Linked DNA regions of Homo sapiens: regions 2, 3, 4 and 5 are each linked to region 1. Evidence: promoter capture Hi-C in human tissues and cell types (Jung and others, 2019). All regions are on one chromosome and are shown on one strand. Each heading gives the region's core, a stretch centred on a gene start or on the middle of the fragment in contact. The rest is flanking DNA. Distances are from core to core; before and after follow the strand shown. Region 1 holds the start of PLAGL2 (PLAG1 like zinc finger 2). Region 2 overlaps XKR7 (XK related 7). Region 3 overlaps ASXL1 (ASXL transcriptional regulator 1). Region 4 overlaps ASXL1 (ASXL transcriptional regulator 1). Region 5 has its middle 12 kb from the start of ASXL1.

What was found. The method cuts DNA at HindIII sites, captures the fragments that hold promoters and counts their contacts. A contact is called where the count stands out against the background at its distance.
Region 2: a contact is called between a fragment that was not itself captured here and the fragment with the promoter of PLAGL2 in region 1, in 3 of the 25 tissues and cell types used here (H1 embryonic stem cells, IMR-90 fibroblasts and lymphoblastoid cells).
Region 3: a fragment that was not itself captured here is called in contact with the fragment with the promoter of PLAGL2 in region 1 in 1 of the 25 tissues and cell types used here (spleen).
Region 4: a fragment that was not itself captured here is called in contact with the fragment with the promoter of PLAGL2 in region 1 in 1 of the 25 tissues and cell types used here (mesenchymal stem cells).
Region 5: a contact is called between a fragment that was not itself captured here and the fragment with the promoter of PLAGL2 in region 1, in 3 of the 25 tissues and cell types used here (liver, mesenchymal stem cells and thymus).

The regions. Positions count from the first base shown.
Region 1 is chr20:32,206,226-32,209,149 of GRCh38, reverse strand. PLAGL2 (PLAG1 like zinc finger 2) reads left to right here and starts at 1,407. Exons shown (of 3, transcript NM_002657.3): 1 at 1,407-1,509. POFUT1 (protein O-fucosyltransferase 1) reads right to left here and starts at 1,270. Exons shown (of 7, transcript NM_015352.2): 1 at 1,085-1,270. The coding sequence starts at 1,208. RefSeq lists enhancers at 931-1,060, 523-1,436 and a silencer at 1,201-1,620. The HindIII fragment of the contact is 8,119 bases long and covers 1-2,924 here.
Region 2 is chr20:31,970,448-31,973,371 of GRCh38, reverse strand. The region is part of intron 1 of XKR7 (XK related 7); the gene reads right to left. Among named protein-coding and RNA genes, the nearest start is that of XKR7, 3.8 kb to the right of the region's middle. RefSeq lists enhancers at 295-794, 795-1,296 and a silencer at 912-1,206. The HindIII fragment of the contact is 4,685 bases long and covers 1-2,924 here.
Region 3 is chr20:32,393,804-32,396,727 of GRCh38, reverse strand. All of the region lies in intron 4 of ASXL1 (ASXL transcriptional regulator 1), which reads right to left. Among named protein-coding and RNA genes, the nearest start is that of ASXL1, 37 kb to the right of the region's middle. The HindIII fragment of the contact is 9,568 bases long and covers 1-2,924 here.
Region 4 is chr20:32,374,540-32,377,463 of GRCh38, reverse strand. The region is part of intron 4 of ASXL1 (ASXL transcriptional regulator 1); the gene reads right to left. Among named protein-coding and RNA genes, the nearest start is that of ASXL1, 18 kb to the right of the region's middle. The HindIII fragment of the contact is 3,163 bases long and covers 1-2,924 here.
Region 5 is chr20:32,344,457-32,347,380 of GRCh38, reverse strand. No RefSeq gene overlaps it. Among named protein-coding and RNA genes, the nearest start is that of ASXL1, 12 kb to the left of the region's middle. The HindIII fragment of the contact is 4,958 bases long and covers 1-2,924 here.

The DNA of each region.
Region 1 (2,924 bases), core at 158-2,657:
GTGAGGAACGCAAAGGAGTTAAGTGTGGCTGCAGCTGGAGGATCAGCAGAGAAGGGAGTTGTGGAGATGGCCAGTGGAGGCCACATCATTCAGGGCCCTGAAAGTCATGGTCAGGAGTCTGGAAGCCACTGGGGGCCTTAAGATCATCCACTTCCACAATGATGATCCACCATACCCATTTCAACTGTGCACCTGGCATGGTCTTTAGATTCTCCCCTACCCTGCTCTCTTTATTTTCCCTTAGTATTCATCATCCTCTATGAAACTATGTATTTATTGTTTTATGTTTACCCCTTTTTGGGTTTGCTTGTTTCGAGACAGGGTCTCACTCTGTCACCCAGGCTGGCAGTGCGGTGGCACGATCAGAGCTCACTGCAGCCTCGAATTCCTCGGCTCAAGAGATCCTCCCACCTCAGCCTCCCAAGTAGCCGCCCAGATAACTCCCAAGGGACTACAAGCACACGATACCACGCTCTGCTTTTTTTTTTTTTTTTTTTTTTTGAGATTGGATTTTCACTATGTTGCCTAGGCTGATCTCGAGCTCCTGGCTTCAAGTGATCCTGCCTCGGTCTCTCAAAGTGGTGGGATTACAGAAGTGAGCCACCGCGCCTGGCCTACTTATTCTCAATTGTTTGTCTTCCCCAACTAAAATGAAGGCTCTACAAGGACACGGAGTTTATCTTATTCACTGCGGTATTCCCAGTACAGAGAACAGGGCCCGGCACAGAATAGGTGCCCCATAAATATTTGCTGAATCAATGAAAAATCACCAGGAGCCAGCGTGGGTCAGTGACATCAAGTCCTGCCCCACTAACTCCATTTACTGGACCCTGGACTGGCTTAGACCTCAAGCAAGTCACGTAACCTCTCCCAGCCTCAGTTTTCTCATCTGTCAAATGGAAAGTTGGACACGTTGGCCCCTCTGTGCCCTTGCAACTAAGGCAGAGAGGAGAAGAGCATGCCCCGTCCCGCTCTGAGGTTCTCTCCTGGACCTGTGAAGGTGTCTCTGGGCGCATCTGAGGAGTGGCTTTTCCTCTCCCGGCCTCAGTTTCTCCATCTGAGCAGAGGGCTTGGGAGGCCTTACCCATGCAGGGGCAGTAGAGCAGGTAACCGGCCGGGTCCCAGGAGCCCGCAGGCATCCCCGGGAGCGGCAGAAGCAGCAGCAGGAAAGACACGCTCAGCGGCCGTGCCCACGCGGCGGCGCCCATGTCGGCCCGGGAACCCGAGCCAGCCGCGGCGCACAGTCGGGGAGGGAAGGAGGGACGCGAGCGCCCGCCCCGCTCCCAGCGGTCCCTGCGCGCCGCCCGCGCACCGCCCCGGCCGCTCTAGCCCGCGGGCGGGCGGGACCATAGAGATCCCGCGGCACCGCCCCCTCCACGACCCGAGCGCCCGCTCGCGCGGCTCCCACAATGCACCGCACAATGGCCCGACCGCCGCCACTACCGGGGCCTGAGGGGGCCTGGCGGAGCCCGAGCGCGGCCCGGCCCGCAGCGTGGGGCCCCGAGCGCGGTGAGTGCCGGCGAGGGCCCCAGGGGACGGCGGGGAGAGGGGCGGGAGGCCGTCTCGCTGCGTCCGCGCGCCCTGTACCCGGAGCGGCGGCGCGCCTCATCTCGGGCCCCTCAGCGCGGTCGCCCACACCCCCGACCCGGGGCCCGGTCTGCGCCAACCCGGCCCCAGATAGGCCCTGGGGTGACGAAAACTCTCCCTGGACCCCATACCTGTGTCTGGGGGACCCGAGGAAGCCACCGGTCCCCTCCCTTCCGAGACCTGGAGACGCAGTCCTGAGGGTCCCCCATTCCCGACCCCTAGGCTCCCTGGAGACCCAGATAAGGCGCTGCTGACCTTACCAGGGACCCGGGTCTGGGGGACGCAGATAAGCTGCACCTGCTCCCTCCCTCCGACACGCCTACCCAGACCCACATAACCCCCTTTCCTGCTCCAGATAGCCCGCTCTGTACCCTGTTTCATTTTCCAGACTTACATAACTCCCTTTGAGGCTTCCCTCAAATATCTGGGTCTGGAGAAGTCGAATAAGCCCCACCTGTAGTTCCCTCCTCAGTGGCCATACTCCCAGGCTTTCGACATCTTCCATCCCGTTACCCATTTTGAGACCCTCTTGAAATTCAGAGGATACACTTCTGACTATCCCCATCCCCCCAGCCTTCCAGCCCTTATAATCCCCCATTTCATTCTTGTGGGGATCCCTTAGAGACCCAGGAAAGTTGCTCATGATTCCTTCCCATCCTCGCTCTTCCTTCCCATCCCAGAGACTCCCTCCAGACTTCTCCCTGGATTTCCTTTGCTTCTCCAGCCCTCATCCACTCCCATCTCTCCCAGGCTCGGGGAATTGAACCTTTCCCACACCACAGTGGGGTGATCTAAAAGTTGGCCTGGGACCAGGCTGTGGCCCACCTTGGTGGGGAGAAAGGGGCCTGTTAGGTGGAGGATATGGGGACACCTGTGTGGGGGAATCGGTGCTTTCACCTGCAAGCTTAGCCTGTCTCCTGGCTTGTGTGTTTTTCCACCTGTCAGCCATGGGACTGTGTGTAGAGTCTGGTCTTGGGTTTCTAACCTTTCTCTCCTAAGGTGAGGCCACCAGATTGGGAGCGGGGGTGTCGAATCACGTTTTCTCCCCATGAAAATGGGGTTGTGATGAGTTGCAGCCATTTGTTCAAGGCCTCCCCAGGAGTGGGAGGCAGCAGGAATCTGAGGAAATAGTGAATCAAAGAGACTCCAAAGAGGGCCCATCTACACTGACAGAAGAATTAGCAGCCTGAGAGTAAATCCAACCCCTGTTAATCCTGTTTGATGTTTCTTGGAATGGTGCAAGTCATTGAGACTCTCCAGCCTCCCTGTAATTTAATTCTCCCACCACTCTGGAGTGGGCGGGGGGGAAGGGGGCGACAGCATTCCCATTTCCCCTC
Region 2 (2,924 bases), core at 110-2,609, 240 kb after region 1:
TCACCACTCTATTCCCAGCACTTAGAACAGTGCCTGGTATACAGCAGGTGCTTAATAAATGTCTGCTGAATGAATGACTGCAGATTAAATGAATGACTGCCATGTCATTATGGCTTCAAGGGACTTCAGGACCCCCTTGCTGTCCTGCCATGTGCTCCGTGAACAAAGCTTTGTTCCACAGGGAGCAAAGCCCAAGCTAATGCACTAATCATTGCCAGCAGTTTCTGAGCATTTAACGATGGAATGAGCCCTTTGCTGAACCCTTACACATTATCTCATTAAACCTTGAAACAACCTAAGAGGCGGGTGGGTACAATTTTGGTCCCTAGTTTACAACGGATGAGAGATTATTTGCCTTGTCAAGGTCACATATAAGAAGTAGTAAAGTCTGGATTTAAACTGAGGACACTTGAATCTAGAGTCCGTGCTCTCAACCCTCTCAACCGTTATGCCAAGAATGTAGTTTCCCAGAGGGGAAATCCAGAGCCTGACATTTCCTTCCAATAGGTCACTAACTCATTCCAGAACTTCTCTGTCATGCAGGGCTTCTTAGGTGACATAGAGTGCAGTGTCTGGGCCTATGCATAGAGAGGGCATTAGAGGGAGGGCCCCTAAATCCCAATTGCCTAATTTTCTCCCCATTTTGGGGTTCCCAGATCCCGAAAGCCTGGCAGGAATCCCATGTCAGATCGTCTCCCACTAATTGGCTTAGCAAACCATGCTTATCTGGGTGAAGCTGGGGCCCACTGAGCTCAAGATTAGGAAAAGCAGGATTCATGGCTTACTGCTCTGCTGCCTACAGGGTCAGAGGGGACAGGGTTAGGACTTTAATTAGCTTAAGAACCCTGGGCAGTTTAACAGCTCAGAGAGTTTAAAGGGAAGGGAGGGATGAAGTTGCAGGTTGGTGTCCAGGCCACAGCCAGCTTCGTGCCCCGCCAGAGGATCTGTTTGCTGTTCCCTCAGAGTTCAATCTCTCTGTGCACAAAGATATTGTTCTGGCATGTCCCAAAGTAGCCAGTGTGTGGTGTAAAAGATAGAGCTAGGTTTGGGACTGATCACCTTTCCTCACTTCCTCAGTGGGTGACTTTTGGACAAGGTTCCTTATCTGATAAATGGGTATATCAATAGTCACCAGGGGGGAGGGTTTCAGAGTAACATGAGATCACATGCCTGAAACACTCACACAGGGCCTGTGGGGACACGGTAGGTGTGCAGTGTCTGTGTATGCTTTCTCCTCCTCTCTCTCTTCAGAGCTTCATTTTATGTTTAAATTAGTAATAAAATCTTCTGTGTGAAAAGACCTTATCAATTTGAAGAGCTAAACCAGAGGTTACAAAGAAGACAGGCTAATAAATATGTTTCCTTTGGTTGACACTATTTTTAAACATTTTAATTAGTAGTTAAATTTTGGAGAGTTCACGGAAAAATCCCAATTTCCCATTTCTCTTGAGAAATCAAGACTGGGTCCACGATTTCTCATGGCATGATCAGCTGGAGCTTCCCTTTTCCTCGGACACTACTTGCCCCTGAATGTCCTCTTGTCTGACACCCCTTGTATCTTATGGTCTTATGGTCTGTTACCTGCCTGGGTCCTCAAAGCATTTGAATTTTTAATTCAGGATTTTACAAGTCTAAGAGGTTGAAAAATATCTTCATGATTATAATTATTTTATTCAGAATTGAGGAAATGGGATCAGGAGGTGAGTGACTGCCTAGCCTCCCAGGTGTGATTCTGGAGGACTCAATCACACATCTCCCTCTTCATTACCCCAGGCCCCACCACTCAGAACATCTGTGGGAACATCTCACGTGGTAAGCAAATGTGCTGGGCCAACATTGCTTAATTTCTAGGAATGCCAGCCCCTGCAGCTTCTCTATACCTTCTCTGGGTTTTCCCTCCATTTATCCAGGCCCTTAGCCATTTTAGAATCCAAAGATTTTGGGGGCAAGGGCCCAGAGGCTTTTGCTTTGGCAATAGACCCAGAGTCAGAATTTCAGGAATGGGAAACTCTTAAGGTCATCACATTGAATCTCATTTCACACACAGGGAAACCGAGACCCAAAGATGGAAAGAGCCTTGCCCAAGGTCACCCAGCAAACTATAGTTACAAACTAGGATAAAGATGTCAGCCTCCTGACCAGACCACCCCCGAATCCAGCCTTTTCCCCACAATACACACTGTTCCCGTCCTCACCCACATAGTTCAACTCCCTGCCCCTCTTTTCACATTCTTATCTCAGTGCAACAGAAGCCCTGACTTTCTATCATACTGGAATCTTGGAATCTCAGATTCATACTTCTTTAAGCTTGAGGGACACTTTAGTGGCAGAATTACAAGGTGGATAAATTGAACTCAGGCTTTAAAGGCAGAGAGCCTGGAGTCTCAGCTCTTCAAGTTCCTAGCTGTGTGACCTTGGACAAGGATGCCCCCTCTCTGAGCCTCCATTCCCTCATCTGTCAAGTAGAAATTATAATGCTAACCACATGACAGGATGATTAGAAGGGGTACAGGAAATAAAGCAGGTAAAAAGGCAACCAGTAGGCTTGGCACAAAGTCAGTGTTTAATAAAATAATTGTTATAGAACTGTAAATTAGGGCTTTCATGTCTAAGTGAAATAGTACAGATATGATCAAAGGGAAAGATGGACAAATTAGAGCACATAGACTCTTTCTAAATTGTTACAGGATTGATACTGCTAGATCCAATTTTTTTAAAGGGAAGCTACGACTCTGGGTTTTTAAAATACTATGCAAGCCACACAAAACACTTCCACAAGCCACATTCAACCTAAGAGCTATTAGATTGTTATCCCTACAAACTTATCTCATCCCAGCCTCCTCATTTTGCAAATGGGAGATAGTAGAAATAGCTAGTCCTTTTATCCATATCCAAGAAACCATAGAGCTGAGGGGATCCTTAGC
Region 3 (2,924 bases), core at 130-2,629, 190 kb before region 1:
ATCCTACTGCTGTAGGCACTGAAAAGCAATACAGTGACAATATCAGAATTGTGCTTTAGAATTATTCTGACAGTAGTCTGTACACTGCATTAGAGACAGAAAAAGTCTGGGAACCAGAGTGCCAATTAAGAAGCTAATGCAACAGTTAGGGAAGAGGTAATTACTCCCTAACTAAGAATGTTACGAATATAAGGAAAAAGATTGTTACAGATTAAATAAGAATAAATAAAGAGGGAAATAAGAAAACATGTATATCTGTATACCCTTACAAAAATAAACACAGAAAGGATACGCCCCACCTAACAAAGCTAAAAAGCAAGCCTCAAAAGAATTAGTTTCCAGCTAACTCATCTGCACTCCAGAACAAATCTCAAAAATACCAACATGAATACAAAAATATCCACAACCCAAAGTGAAATTCACAATGTCTTTCATCTAAACAGAATTTATTAGGATTGCAAAGAACTGGGAAATCTGACCCATAATGACAAGAAAAATAGAATACATAAAAACAGACCCAAAGATGATATAGAGACAGAATCAGAAGAGATTATGAAAAGTTATTATATTTCACATGTTCAACATTGAGCACGTTAAGCAGAGAAATATAAGATGTTTTTTAAGAAACAAACCAGGTGTGGTCGCTCATTCCTGTAATCCCAGCACTCTAGGAGGCTGAGGCAGGTGGATCACCTGAAGTCAGGGGTTTGAGACCAGCCTGGCAAACATGGTGAAGCTCTGTCTCTACTAAAAATACAAAAACTAGCCAGACATGGTGATGCATGCCTGTAATCACAGCTACTTGGGAGGCTGAGGCAGGATAATCGCTTGAACCTGGGAAGCGGAGGTTGCAGCGAGCCAAGATCATGCCACTGCACTTCAGCCTGGGTGACAGAATGAGACTCCGTCTCAAAAAAAAGAAAAAAACTGAATTTTTAAGGATAAAAGGTATAATTCTGGATAAGAGTAACAGATTTAACATGGGAAAGATAAAGACTAGTGAAATGAAGATCAGTAGAAACTACCCAAAACAAAGAGAATCAAATGACTAAAAAACATAACAGTGCATCAGTGAGTTGTATGACTACTTCAAGCAGCCAAATATACATGTAATTACAGACTCCAGATGCGGTGGGGAAGTACAAAAGAAAAATATTTCAAGAAATAGTAGCTGAATACGTAAATTTCATCCATGAAGCTCAAGAGAATTCAAACACAAGAAATATGACGCAAACTACAACAAAGTATATAATAAACACATTGCTGAAAAAGCAGTGATAAAAAGAAAATCTTAAAAATTAACCAAAAAAGGCAAAAAAGATAAATTTGCTCGCTGAAGAACAAAGATTAAAATAACAACAGATTTTACAGGAGAAATAATGCAAGCTAGAGACAGTGGAGCAACATCTTTAAAGTACACAATGAAAAAAACCTGTCAACCTAGAATTCTGTATCAAAGGAATATATCTTTCTAAAAACAAGAGGAAGTACTTTTTCAAACACACCAAAGCTTAAAGATATCACCAGCAGACCTACACTACAAGAAACACATTAAAGGAAGTCCTCTGGCAGAAAGAAAATCTGAACTGACGAGAAAAAACTGAAGAAAATCTGGCAGATGAGAATCTGGAACCGCTCATAGGCAATAAAGAACACCAGAAATGGAAAACATATAAAGTAAAAGACATTTTTTCTTACTTTTAAAATCTTTTTAGGCCAGGCATGGTGGCTCATGCCTGTAATCCCAGCACTTTGGGAGGCCAAGACAGGCGGATCACTGGAGCTCAGGAGTTCGAGACCTGCTGGGCCAACGTGGCAAAACCCCATCTCTACTAATAATACAAAAATCAGCCAGGCATGATGGGGCGCACCTGTAATCCCAGCTACTCAGGAGGCTGAGGCATAAGAATCACTTGAACCCAGGAGGCAGAGGCTGCAGTAAGCCAAGATTGCACCACTGCACTGTAGCCTGGGCAACCGAGTGAGACTCCGTCTCAAAAAAAAAAAAATTGTTTTAAAAAAATTGACTACTTAAATGAAAAATAATAATGTATTGTGGAGTTTACAACATATGTAAAAGTGAAGTGTATGACAAACATAGCACAAAGTCTGAAGGGAAAATGAAGTGTACTGCTATAAGGTTCTTGTAATATAGGTGAAGTGGTATAATATTAAAGACTGAGTTTCACAAGCTGAACTCAATAAACACTAAAGCAGCCACTAAAATAACAAAGTACTAATGAGCCAAGAAAGGACTTAAAAATGAACCACTAAAAAATCCTCAATCCAGGCCAGGCATGGCGTAGCTCACTCCTGTAATGCCAGCACTTTGGGAGGCCAAGGGCAGGGATCACTTGAGGTCAGGAATTCGAGACCTGCTTGGCCAACATGGCAAAAGCCCATCTCTACTAAAAATACAAAAATTAGGCCAGGCACGGTGGCTCACGCCTGTAATCCCAGCACTTTGGGAGGCCAAGGCGGGCAGATCACAAGGTCAGGAATTTGAGACCAGCCTGGCCAATATAGTGAAACCCTGTCTCTACTAAAAATACAAAACATTAGCTGGGTGTGGTGATGGGCGCCTGTAATACCAGCTACTTGGGAGGCTGAGGCAGGAGTATCGCTTGAACCCAGGAGGCGGAGATTGCAGTGAGCCGAGATCGCGCCACTGCACTCCAGCCCAGGTGACAGTGCGAGACTCTGTCTCAAACCAAAAAAAAAAAAAAAAAAATAGCCAGGTGTGGTGGCACGCACCTGTAATCCCAGCTACTTGGGAGGCTGAGACAGGAAAACTGCTTGAACCCAGGAGGCAAAGGTTACAGTGAGTTGAGATTGCACCACTGCACTCCAGCCTAGACGACAGAGTGACAGTCCATCTTAAAAAAACAAAAACGAAAAAAACACCACATCAGACAAATAGAAAA
Region 4 (2,924 bases), core at 167-2,666, 170 kb before region 1:
TTACCCAGAAAAACTTTTATCAAAGAAGAAACCCTTTGTCATGCCCAAAAAATCTCCAGCAAATCAGTAAACCTGACAATCATAGGTAAGTCCACACAAATGTTTCCAGAACCAAAAAATAAAATAAAAAATTGCAATTATTTTCAAATAGTAAAACCACGTAGATAAAATATAATTCTGGCCAGGCACGTGGCTCACGCCTGTAATCCCAGCACTTTGCGAGGCTAAGGTGGGTGGATCACCTGACGTCAGGTGATATAATATACATAGATATATCTATAATATATTATATATAATATATTTATAGATATCTGTATAATATATAATATATATTATATTAATATATCTATTAATATATTATATATAATATAGATATCTATATAACATTATATATAATATATAATAGACATATTATATCTGTTGTATATTATATCACCTGACCTCAGGTGATCCACCCACCTTAGCCTCCCAAAGTGCTGGGATTACAGGCATGAGCCACGTGCCTGGCCAGAATTATATTTTATCTACGTGGTTTTACTATTTGAAAATAATTGCAATTTTTTATTTTTATTTTATAAATATAAAATATATAACATATAATTATATATTATATATCTATCATGATATTTATATAATATATAATATATAAAATACATTATATATATCATGATAGATATATAATATATAATATACAAAATTCTGACCCTAATGTCCCACCAGATGAGATTTCCAAGTACGGAGGAGAAAAAACTTAACAAGCCATTCTGCACGTAAGCTTATCCTTAACACATAAGGGAGAACAGGCAAAGAAAATGCCAAAAGATTTCAAAGGTGTCACTACTACCTTTAAAAGGAAAACAGAGAAATGTGAGTTAAATAACTGGTGTCAGCTGGGTGTGGTGGCTCACGCCTGTAATCCCAACACTTTGGGGGGCTGCGGTGGGTGGATCACCTGAGGTAAGGAGTTCAAGACCAGCCTGGCCAACATGGTAAAACCCTGTCTCTACTAAAAATACAAAAAATTAGTCGGGTGTGGTGGCTCACGCATATAATCCCAGCTACTCAAGAGGCTGAGGCAGGAGGATCACTTCAACCCGGGAGGCAGAGGTTACAGTGAGCCGAGATTGCGCCACTGCACTCCAGCCTGGGTGATACAGTGAGACTCCATCTCAAAGATAACACAACACAACACAAAATAAAATTAAAATAAAATAAAATAAAATAAAAATAAAATAAAATAACTGGTGTCTTCCTGTCCATTATCATAGGCAAGACACTCACCAAACTAGCCCTTGGTCGACCACTATGCAAAACTTCCCACCACTTTCATCCTTTGCTGCTGAATCCTTTGGACAACCTGGAACAGTAGACATGACTACTGTCTGGCATTACTACATTAGTACTGGCAGTAAAACATAAAGGATTCCGGAAATAACGAAGATTTCTACATTTTTATTAGTCCTTAAAAAATGTACTTAACTGCCAGGCCTGGTGGCTCACACCTATAAATCCCAGCACTTTGGGAGGCTGAGGTGGGAGGATTGCTTCGAGTCCAGGAGTTCAAGACCAGCCTGGGCAACATGACAAAACCCCATCTCTATTAAAAATACAAAAATTAGCTAGGCGTGGTGTCACGCACCTCTAATTCCAGTTATTTAGGAAGCTGAGGCACAAGATTGCTTGAGCACAGGAGGCAGAGGTTGCAGTAAGCCGTGATCATGCCACTGCACTCCAGCCTGGGCAACGGAGCCAGGCCCTGTCTCAAAAAACAAAACAAAACAAAACAAAAAAAACAAACTACTTACTTCTATACAACAACTAGTCTGGATTGTTCAAAAATATCATGATTGGATACAGGATTTTAGGCCACAAAGAATAATTTTGAAATGAGAGAAAAATTTGAATATGGACTATGTATTATACACAATCATATCAATGTTAAGTTTCTTGAGTGTGATAACGGCATTGTGGTTATATAGGAAAATGTCTTTGTTCTTTTTTTCTTTTTTTTTTTTGAGACCAAGTCTTGCTCTGTCACCCAGGCTACAGTGCAGTGGTGCCATCTCGGCTCACTGCAGCCTCTGCCTCCTGGGTTCAAGTGATTCTCCAGCCTCAGCCTCCCGAGTAGCTGGGATTACAGGTGCACGCCACCACACCCAGCTAATTTTTTGTATTTTTAGTAGTAACGGGGTTTTGCCGCGAACTCCTGACCTAAGGTGATCCGCCCGACTCAGCCTCCCAAACTGCTGGGATTACAGGCGTGAGCCACTGCGCCGGGCTATGTCTTTGTTCTTAAGACATACTATCTAAAGTGCTCAGAGGTGGCTGGGCACGGTGGCTTATGCCTGTAATCCCAGCACTTTGGGAGGCCAAGGCAGGCCTTGAGGTCAGGAGTTCGAGACCAGCCTGACCAACATGGCAAAACGCTGACCAGATATGTCCCCTCGACCTTGGCCTCCATAGCTGTAAGAAATAAATTAATTTTCTTTATAAATTACTCACTTTTGGATATTCTAAGTAATGGAAAATGGACTAAGACTATGGTACTGCCTCAATTTTTCTATAGGTTTGAAATTTTTCAAAATAAATAAACGTAAAGTAAAAATATATATATATGTATTTAACACCACCTTGGATTAGGGTGTTTATTGGACAGACCTGAGTTCTCAAGTGACCAAGATGGTAATCAGCTGGTTCAGATCTTTGATATCCTTTCTCATCCATTCCTGAGTAACAATAAACTAAATGCCTGCACAACTTCTGGGAGAAGTGTGGTGTTGATGAGGCATATAACAAGAGACTAGTTAGTAATCACACATTCATGGCTGGAAATCTGGAATTCTTAAAACAGCCTTCAAAAAGAATAAGGGGCCGGGCACCGTGGCTCACACCTGTAATCCCAGCACTTCGGGAGGCTGAAGCAG
Region 5 (2,924 bases), core at 113-2,612, 140 kb before region 1:
ACAAGAAAATTATAGGCCAACAGTGGTGGCTCACGCCTGTAATCTCAGCACTTTGGGAGGCTGAGGTGAGAGGACTGCTTGAGCCCAGGAGTTCAAGACCATCCTGGGCAACACAGTGAGACCCTGTCTCTTTATAAAAAATAACAATTTAAAAGATTTTAGCCGGCCATGGTGGCTCACGCCTGTGATCCTAGCACTTTGGGAGGCTGAGGCGGGTGGATCACCTGAGGTAGACCAGCCTGACCAACATGGAGAAACCCCGTCTCTACTAAAAGTACAAAATTAGCTGGGTGTGGTGGCGCATGCCTGTAATCCCAGCTACTTGGGAAGCTGAGGCAGGAGAATCACTTGAACACGGGAGGCGGAAGTTGCGGTGAGCCAAGATCACTGTATTGCACTCCAGCCTGGGCAACAAGAGCAAAACTCCATCTCAAAAAAAAAAAAAAAAAAATTAATAAAATTATAATGGGAAAACCTTTTGATTTGGTAATTCATGTACAGTGATTTATTCCAGGAGGAAATTAAACAAGCGAACAGTGATCTTTGTCCAAGGTTGCTTAATATAGCATTGTATAAAATGGTAAAAATCTGGAAGTAGCTTCAATGACCATCAATAGTGTTAAATAAATTCTGGTACAATATAATATAATATAATGCAAGGTACTGATTTAAAACAATAATATAAATTTAAATTAACTGGATATATGTCCACAACATATCATTGAGTGAAAATAGGACAGGTGAGTAGAATAAATTTACATATACCATGATGGTCAAACTAAAAGAGTTTGCACAAAGAGGTATCCAAAAGATAATCATTGGCTCTGGGTAACGGAGTTTCCAGTGATTTGTAATTACTTTCTTAAAATGTTTTTGTATTGTTTGAATTTTTTACCATTAGAAGATGTAACTTTTATAATCAAAATATTCAGTACCAGCCTAGGCAACATGGCAAAACCATGTTTCTTTTTTTTTTCCCGAGACAGTCTTGCTCTGTCACCCAGGCTGGAGTGCAGTGACGTGATCTCAGCTCACTGCAACCTCTGCCTCCCAGGTTCAAGCAATTCTCCTGCCTTAGCCTCCCAAGCAGCTGGGATTACAGGCATGCGCCACCATGCTCGGCTAATTTTTGTATTTCTAGTAGAGACAGAGTTTCACCCTGTTGGCCAGGCTGGTCTCAAACTCCTGACCTTGTGATCCACTCCCCTCAGCCTCCCAAAGTGCTGGGATTACAGGCGTGAGCCACCGCGCCCCACCTGCAAAACCATGTTTCTACACAAAATACAAAAAATTAGCCGGGCATGGTGGTGCACGCCTGTACTCCCGGCTACTTGGGAGGCCCAGGTGGAAGGATCACTTGAACCAGGGAGGTGGATGTTGCACTGAACTAAGATGGTGCCACCACACTTCAGCCTGTGAAACAGGGCAAGACCCTGTCTCAAAAATAAACAAACAAACAAAAAATTTCAATAGAGCTCACTGCATTTTGGTTTTAAAATAGCACTTAACTGAACATCTATTACATAGCCTACAAAGTCTATATTCTTATTTATTCCCTACATCAACCCTACATAGGAGGTCTTACTTGTTTATTTTGCAGGTGAGGAGACAACTAAAGGCTCAGAAAGGTTAAGAAGCTTGCTCTGGATGTATCAGAATTTGAACACAGGGCTGGCTGACACAAGAACTCTTTCCATGATGCTCCACTACTTATCTTAATATTGCTATTAATATCTAATAATATATGCCTCATATTGTGTGCCTATTAAGTGCCAGGCACTTGATGGATATTTCTTTAATCCCTTCAGCAACCCTGCAGGGTATTAACCCTCCCCCAGACGTGCAATAGCTCAAAACAGATAGTAAGTGCCAACCCTGGTTTATCCGGCTTCAAAACCTCCCTGCTCCATTTGGCTACATTTCCTGCTAATTTAGTAGTGTACTGTCTTCGATTGGAGACGTTATTTGCCCTGAGGTCTGTGCTCCTCTACATGCCTTTACATCTCCATCTTGTAGCTTTTTGGTTTGACTGCAGTGCTTAAATATAGATTATGGATTTAACCATAATGCAAATATTTACTTTTACCATGCAGTACTTAAACAAGAATGTTGTGAACTCTTAGTTTATCCACGAACTTTATCACCCAGCTCAGAAGCCTTCAGAGTCTCCCCTGGCAGAATAAAAGCAAAACTCAGCAGCTAGGTTCCTTCACAGTCTAGCTCTAATGTGCATGGCCACGAGGCTCCCAGAATGCCCTGGGCTCCCTCCTGCAGGCTCCTGACCATGCTCCTTCTGGGTTTTGCAGCTCAATAGCCCCAGCGCCCAGCAGGATGCTCAGCCCAAAGTGGCATTCAGTAAATGCTGGATGAAAAGAGGAAAGGAGAAAGCTCTACACCCTGAGACAAAGATTTCACCCAGGCAACAAGATGGGGGCGTTGGAGGCTGAATGAAATTCAATTGAGCAGAGATGAGGTAAGGCTTCAATGAAGGCCACATGCTCATGGCACAGTCACCTTCAGACCTACCTCTCTGCTGTGCTATCCAGCTTTACAAAATGCTTTCACATAATAACCCTAACTGCTACTACTTCTAGAGAGCTCACCACATGCCAGGCACTAGGTGCTTTACAAATATGCTTTCTTATTTTATTAGGATTACTGTGATTATTATTAATTTCTGTCCCTCTGCACTAGCTCCACACAAGCTCCAGGAGGGCAGAGGTTTTTGTCTGTGGTGTTCAAAACAGTGCTGGGCATATAGTAGGTATTAAATAGGTCATTGAATTCTTCACAGAGCTCCATGAAGTAAGGAGGATTTTTTTTTTAATAGGGTCTCTCCTCTGTCACCCAGTCTGGAGTACAGTGGTGTGATAACAACTCACTGCAGCCTCCAACTCCTGGGCTCAAGAGATGCTTCTGCCTCA